Regions from separate parts of the Homo sapiens genome. Here region 2 is linked to region 1. Evidence: promoter capture Hi-C in human tissues and cell types (Jung and others, 2019). All regions are on one chromosome and are shown on one strand. The core of a region is centred on a gene start or on the middle of the fragment in contact, and the rest is flanking DNA. Distances in the headings are between cores, read along the strand shown.

Region 1 (3,678 bases), core at 793-3,292:
ACTACCCAGATGGAGAGTGAACCTGCACCTAAGGAAACAGATGTCGTGTGTATGTGTATGTGTGAGGGGGCACTCCCAACCCCTGCGCCCTCCAGGTTTATTCACATCTCCACCTCATCTTCCCGCTGTCTCTGTGGAAGGCCCTGCTGATCTCAGGCTGTCACTCTGGACGGCTCCCTCACTGCAGGGATGGTGCTCTGTTGAGTACCTGCTGTATAGATTAGCGCACGAGGCTGGGAGAACTTAGGCAAGTGTTTCCCTTCTCTGGCTTCAGTTTCTCCATCTGTCAGTGAAGGCTGAGTCTGGGTGATTCCAAGGGGCCGTTTGAGCTGACTGAAGTTCTTCAAGTTCATAGTTGTAAGGTCCTGCCCCGCCGCCAGCGGCTGGTGTGGGGTGGGAGTCTTCCTGGAGAAGTTCTGAGGACGAAAATCCCCTGTTTGCCTTCCTCCTCCTCCTCCTCACAACAGACTTCCCTCCTTAACTTCCCTAGGGAAGGCAGCCGGGCTCCCAGGGCCCCAGGAGTCTGCAGGAGGAGTTCTTACTCCAGCATCATTAAAAGTTCAAGTAGCTCCCCCAAGGGCCAAAGAAGTGCCAGGATTCATTAGACCTGCTGCCCCCTGAGCCCAGTTTGGTTGAAGGGAATGTTTAGCCTTTTCATCTGGTGAGGGTTTTCATTAAGGGTTTGAGGCCTCCCTAAGAGAACTCACCTCAGACTGAGGTCAGAGGGGGAAGGGTCCCTGGAGGTCACCTCTTGCTCCGGGAGTTCTGCAGAGGAGACAGGCTGGATCAGGGCAAGGGGTTTGCCCAACATCACAGGGTGGAGGTGCTGCCAGAACTCAGAGAACCAGCCTTGCGGTGTCTGCAGACATTCCTCCAGGCGGTAGGGAGATGAGCCTGGAGGGAGGGGCTGGGGACTCAGCCTGGAGGGACCCTGCAGAGCCAGACACAGAGCTGGGGCTTTGGGGAGCCCCACTGCATGTGAGGAAGAGCTTGGAGAACAGCCCAGCATGCCCACAGCAGAAAGGGTTGCCCAGAGAGAGAGTGAGCACCTGTTGCTGAGGTCTGTCAGCAGGATGGGACGGTGCCTCCCAGGAGGAACAGAGGGGATTTGGGCCTGGCGGGTGGGCTTGGAGGGACAGTCAGTACTGCTCAGATCCTGCCGCTCTGTAAATGCTCCACTAGGCAGGAATGGCACTCATCACTGCTGGGCAGGGAGGGTGTGACAGAGCAAGGAGCATGCCATTTATGGCCAGTTGAGACTGTTGAACTGGGAACCAGGAGGCTGGGCTGTGCCTGCCCTCTCTGAGCTCAGTGGCCTCCTTCTTGCCTCCCAGCAAGCTTGGGAGGACACCCAGACCCTCCTGCCTCCCAGAACAGGCCGGATGGAGGACCTCCCTGGATGGCAAAATCTGCCTGTGGTGCCTCCCTGAGCTTCTCAAGCTCATTGAGCTCGGGATGGCTCATCTGACAGAGCCTGACTCAGCCCCGGAGGGCTCTGCAGGCTGCAGGACAGGGAATCACAGACTCTCAGATGTCAGTGTCTCCTGAGCCATGGAGTCCATTGCAGTAATATCAGTTGCAAACATGACGGGAGCTGGTGTTGCTGCTTTACGCATCTCAACTCCTTTAGTCCTCGGAACACCCTACTGAGGAAGGAACCGTTATCAGCCATTTTACAGAAGAGGAAACAGGACAGAGAGGTTAAGTAACTTGTGCACAATCTCAGAGCAAGTGAGTGGCGTGGCTCCAAAGCCCGTGTTGTTCATCTCTGTTCTACACAGTCTCTACGAGAGGAGACTGAAGTGCGGAGAGGGAAGGTCACTGAGCCAGGCAGCAGGAGGGTTTCTTTCCTCTAGACTCAGGGCTCCTCCCTCAACCAGATCCAGCCTGACAGCTCCTCTGTCTCCACCTGGCCTCCCTGCCAGGCCTCCTCAGAGTTAACAGCGGCCTGGCCTCACCCTTGGCCAGCAGTTGCAAGTCCAAACAGGCTTCGCCCACATTCCCTGGCTGCTCTCCAGCCCGCAGCAGAGACAACAAAGTTCAGTGACTGAGAGGGCTGAGCGGAGGCTGCTGAAGGGGAGAAAGGAGTGAGGAGCTGCTGGGCAGAGAGGGACTGTCCGGCTCCCAGATGCTGGGCCTCCTGGGGAGCACAGCCCTCGTGGGATGGATCACAGGTGCTGCTGTGGCGGTCCTGCTGCTGCTGCTGCTGCTGGCCACCTGCCTTTTCCACGGACGGCAGGACTGTGACGTGGAGAGGAACCGTACAGCTGCAGGGGGAAACCGAGTCCGCCGGGCCCAGCCTTGGCCCTTCCGGCGGCGGGGCCACCTGGGAATCTTTCACCATCACCGTCATCCTGGCCACGTATCTCATGTGCCGAATGTGGGCCTCCACCACCACCACCACCCCCGCCACACCCCTCACCACCTCCACCACCACCACCACCCCCACCGCCACCATCCCCGCCACGCTCGCTGAGGCTGCTGTCGCCGGTGCCTGTGGACAGCAGCTGCCCCTGCCCTCCCATCTGTTCCCAGGACAAGTGGACCCCATGTTTCCATGTGGAAGGATGCATCTCTGGGGTGAACGAGGGGAACAATAGACTGGGGCTTGCTCCAGCTGCATTTGCATGGCATGCCCCAGTGTACTATGGCAGCAGAGAATGGAGGAACACTGGGTCTGCAGTGCTGAAGGGTTTGGGGAGTGGAGAGCAAGGGTGCTCTTTCGGGGCTGGACAGCCCGTCTTGTGACAGTGACTCCCAGTGAGCCCCAGAAATGACAAGCGTGTCTTGGCAGAGCCAGCACACAAGTGGATGTGAAGTGCCCGTCTTGACCTCCTCATCAGGCTGCTGCAGGCCTCTGGCGGGCAGGGCACTGGGAGAGGCCCTGAGAATGTCCTTTTGGTTTGGAGAAGGCAGTGTGAGGCTGCACAGTCAATTCATCGGTGCCTTAGTCCAAGAAAATAAAAACCACTAAGAAGCTTTTGTGAAGAGGCTCTTGATTGCAGCATAGTGGGAGGGAGGGAGCTGCCTGGCCTGTGTCCTCATTGCCCTGGGACCTCCCTCTCTGATGGGAAGCGTGTGGCTGGAGCAGGCGGCTTCTGTCTGGTTCTTAGGGGCTGGTTGTGGAGTGGGAAGAATTGGGTGGGCTCTGTCTGAGCTCTGAGGGAGGATTCAGGGTTTGCACAAAACCCTGCCCACAGCAGGTCCTGTGTGCACCAGCAGGGCTCTGGCCTTCCGCGGGACAGTCCTCGGGGAGAGGAAGGTTGGAGCCGCTGCGAGCCTGGCTCCCCAGGGCTCTGCCCCTGTACTTTTTTCAGCCCATGTCCAGGGCAGACTGAGCTCTGAAACTCGAGGAAGCCCCATCCACAGGCTGCCTTGAATCCAGTTTCCTTGGTAATTGGATCAGGGTTTCTTCTCCAAGCCTTGCGTTTTCAGCCATCCTGCCCCAGCTGGTGCCTGTGTGTGGTGGGAGGGCTGGGAGGCAGCGAGTGGAGTTCTTTAAAGTGGAGGCTGTGGTGCTGGGGTGCAGGGTGTTGGATGGCCTTGGGAGAATGCTGGGGTCTCACTTTCCTCTTCTCTGCAATGGGGTGGATAACAGAGATGCCCACGTGCCGAAGCCTGGAGGCTCGTTGGAATATGCTCTGTGAACAGCTAGTGGGATCCACAGCGAGGAAGGAA
Region 2 (3,678 bases), core at 459-2,958, 180 kb before region 1:
TTAACTAAGAGAATGGGCAAATACAAGCTGCCCATTCCCCTCCTGGCAAACTACAAGCCTCAAATGGGGAAAAGCAGGGTGAGAGGGGAAGGCTGGAAAGCAGAGATGGGGGTGTTAGGATACAGAAGGCATTTGAAAGCCAGGGAAGTTAAGAAGGGGTAGAGGGTAAAGAAGTTAGGAGAGATGGGATGAGGAGAATTGAAAATCTAAGTAGAAACAAGAGACAGGAGGCAGGTATGAAAATGGTCTAGATCAGCGGTCTGGTACCAAGTGGCAGATAGACCATTTCTGACCTTACAAGCAGTCCAGAGTCTCAAAAGAGAAGAACCACAGCTCTCTGTCTTTACTCCCCAATAAGAGAGGACCCTCCCAGTCTCCCCAGTTCCAGCTCTCTGCCCCCTCCCCACTCCTGGGGCACTTTGCCCAACCTTATTACTATCCGCTTGTGTCCCAGCTGGACAGACCTGGCTATGGGGTTGCTGACCATGAAAGAATGAGGGCTGGGCTGGTGGATCCGAGAAGCTGGAGGAGTCTGTGGAGCCAAGAAGCAGGACTGAAAGGACCCTTCACACTAAGCTGAAACTGCATGTCTCCCCCCATTTCCTCTGGACACTTAGACACCCCCTTCCTCCTCAAGCACGGAAGCCTCTGGTGAGACCCCGATAAGGGAGCTGAGTCATGCCTACCCTTACTCCCCAGCTGGTCCAGAGTGGATATTCACACAGCTACAAGAGGGTGTGTGGACGCGAAGAACTGATCAGTGAATTGTGGGTGGTGGTGGCAAAGAACAAGGCTGCTACAAGTATGAGTAGAAGCTAGCTCATTCCTCCTTTGGCCTGAGAACTTTGCTCCCTTTTCCATTGTGTTTGATGGAACAGCAACTCCCCACTGCCGTGTCCCCCTCCCAGGGAACTCCTCCTCCCTCAATACATTCCTGCGATGCATTCCAAAGAAGTTGGGCAATTGGAGGGGGGGAATGGAGGACAGGAGGTCAAATCCCAGCAAGGAATGGAATGTAAGAGTATTGGAGCTAAGAAAGTTGGGGTACTTGGAGAATATAGTCAGAGCAGATACCCACAAGGGGAATTGCAGAAAGATAGGGAGTTACAGACAGGAACAAAAGGAAAGAGCTTAAGACAGTCAGAATATAAGAGGGATGGGGGAGTAACACTCAGTCTGTTACCAAATTTGGCCTCTGAGTCCGCAACCGCTGGCAGTGGGGGAGGGCTGTGGGTGAGACTGACATATCCGGCCTCAGGCTGCTGGAGACTCATTTAGAGCTGGACTGGGCAGCTAGCTGAAGGGCTGCACAGAACTTCCCCCGGTACAGCCCCTCCATACTCAAATGCACACTCATTCTCCCCAGATGCACCCCAGCCTAGGCAGAGCTCTTTCCCACAAAGCTACCTTACTCTCTCTATACACACATTATCTCAATCACACAGCCCCCACACAGATCCCATCACGACTGCATTATCTTCTCCTAGGGAGCCCATCCTATGCACACAGCTTTTGCACAGATAACCTCCATAACAAGCACACCCGGCACCCAGTGTCTCTCCTCCCATTATGTAGACATTCTCCATTCACCCAGCAAGCATTCCTTGAGGGCCAGCTGTGGGGAAGACCCTGGGCCAAACTTTCAGTGGCTGGGGACCAAGATCAGTAAGACCTAGCCTTTGAGTTCAAAGGGCTCCCAGTCCACGAGATGAGTGAATAAGCCAAGTACAGAATCACAACGGAGGGCAGGATGTGGTAAGAGCCAAAAGGTGTGTGCTCAGAGAGATCCCTTTAGGTCAGGGAAGGGGAACCAAAAAGTCTCCATGATAAGTATCATTTGAAGCTAGAATTTTAAAAAATAGAGATAATAAAAAACAATAGTGATCTGCCATTTATTGACTATGTCACTTGCATTGTATACATAATTTCATTTAATCCTTACAGTAGGTGTCATTATTTCCATTTTTACAGATCAGAAAACAGACTCAAAGATGTTAAATACTTGTTCAAATACTTCTCCAAATAATAAGTTGTGAAGCCAGGATCCGAACCCAGGTTTCTGACTGCAAAGCCCAAGCTTTCTCCACTACGCCAGCCAGCTGGAGATGTGTCAGGGGTAGTTTTCACTCCAGGCAGAGAAATAGCATAAGCAAAGATGGAGAAGCAGTAAATCGTGGAGGAGCATTCAGGGAAGTGAGCAGGCAGGCTGTTGAAGCACAGGGGTACCTGCAAGGGAGCAGTGGTGGGGAAGTCAGGGTTAGGATGGAAAGGCAGAGGAAGACTGGAGAGGGGTATGAGGAATTTTACTTATTGGAGGACAAAAGGAAGCCAAGGGAGTCTTTGAGCAGAGAAGAGACATAACCGGAACTGGATTTTAGAAAAATAACTCTGGCAGTTACCTTGGAGATTAGTTAGAAGGACACTGTATTAGTACAAATTAAAGGTAATGAAGCCGGAGTTGGAATGGCATTGAGGAAGATGTCACTCAGAACAAGTTTGGGGAGGTAGAAATGACAGGACCTAATAACTACTAAGGTAGACAGGTTAGAGTCCCACAGCTTCCTATCATCAGCAGCCACTTTAGCGGCTGGGGCAGCTTGAGTTTAGGCGACGAATTGGGAAGAGGGGAAAGGATCAGGTTGGGCAGAGAATGTGAGGATGAGGCTGTGGTTACGGGATGTGGTTAGGCTGTGGGGAAAAAGGGTATGAGTATATGATTAGTAGCCACTAGGGGCAGATGGGGTTGGGTTAGTGACTGCATCAGGCTGGGAATGGGGAAGACAGGGTGTAGAAAAAGGATGAGAAGACAGGGTGTAGAAAAAGAATGCTGGTGATGATGGTGTTTGGAAAAATACATATACATAAGATACATATATGACCAGTCACTGCATCAGGTTGGGGGAAGGGGAATGATTACATGGATGGTGGCTAAGTCAGGGAATGATGGGGTGAGGTCAGAGGCCAGGTCAGGCTATAGGAGGTTGAGAAGAGCTGGGCCTGTGGTCAGTCACTAAATCAGACTGGGGTGGGGGTGGGAAAGTGAAGGGACATTGGCAATGTCTAAGTAAAGCTGGAGCTGGGATGGGGGATGGGGTACAGCCAGTGGCTGGGTCAGGCTGAGTAGAGGATAGTGCTGTGGTCAGTGGCAGGGTCAGGCTGGGAGTGAAGTGGGGGTGTGGTCAGTGGCCTGGCTGGGCGTGGGATCAGCAAGACCCAGTTTCCTCTTTGGGTCTCGTTTCCTCTTTTCTGTTGGGGAGTGGGGGAAGGGGATCTACAAATGGTCCAAGAAATTAAAAGAGGCTTAGATCCAGGGGGTGACACACAGCAGGGGATGGGAGTAGGGTATTCAGCAGATGACCAGGTGGAATGTAGGTACATGACTGGGTGAAAATGGTAGGAGAGTAATTTAAAATGATGGGAAAGCTCAGGTTTTGATGAGGGTAAATTCAGGTAGGATGTGCGGATTAAAGGTTGGTGAGGGAGGTAGAACTAAGGATGGGAACGGATGATAAGATGAGCATGGGAGAGTTAAAGGCAAGGGAAGTATTTTGTAAGGGGATAGGCAGGATGGGTGTGAAATGCAGAGTCAGGGATGAGAGTTGGAGAGGAGGGCTTAATACCAAGAGAACAAGTGAAGTGGGAGAAGCAGGGCTAAACTTTCAGGGGATTCAGTTATTC

Evidence for each region. The method cuts DNA at HindIII sites, captures the fragments that hold promoters and counts their contacts. A contact is called where the count stands out against the background at its distance.
Region 2: a contact is called between a fragment that was not itself captured here and the fragment with the promoter of HRCT1 in region 1, in 1 of the 25 tissues and cell types used here (hippocampus).

Annotation. Positions count from the first base shown.
Region 1 is chr9:35,904,160-35,907,837 of GRCh38, forward strand. It overlaps HRCT1 (histidine rich carboxyl terminus 1), which reads left to right and starts at 2,043. Exons shown (of 1, transcript NM_001039792.2): 1 at 2,043-2,977. The coding sequence starts at 2,129. The coding sequence ends at 2,476. LOC124902149 (a long non-coding RNA gene) reads right to left here and starts at 1,511. Exons shown (of 3, transcript XR_007061471.1): 1 at 209-1,511. RefSeq lists an enhancer at 709-1,590. The HindIII fragment of the contact is 3,304 bases long and covers 347-3,650 here.
Region 2 is chr9:35,727,174-35,730,851 of GRCh38, forward strand. The region is part of intron 1 of TLN1 (talin 1); the gene reads right to left. Among named protein-coding and RNA genes, the nearest start is that of TLN1, 3.2 kb to the right of the region's middle. RefSeq lists enhancers at 1-20, 21-734, 3,130-3,189 and a silencer at 1-33. The HindIII fragment of the contact is 3,260 bases long and covers 79-3,338 here.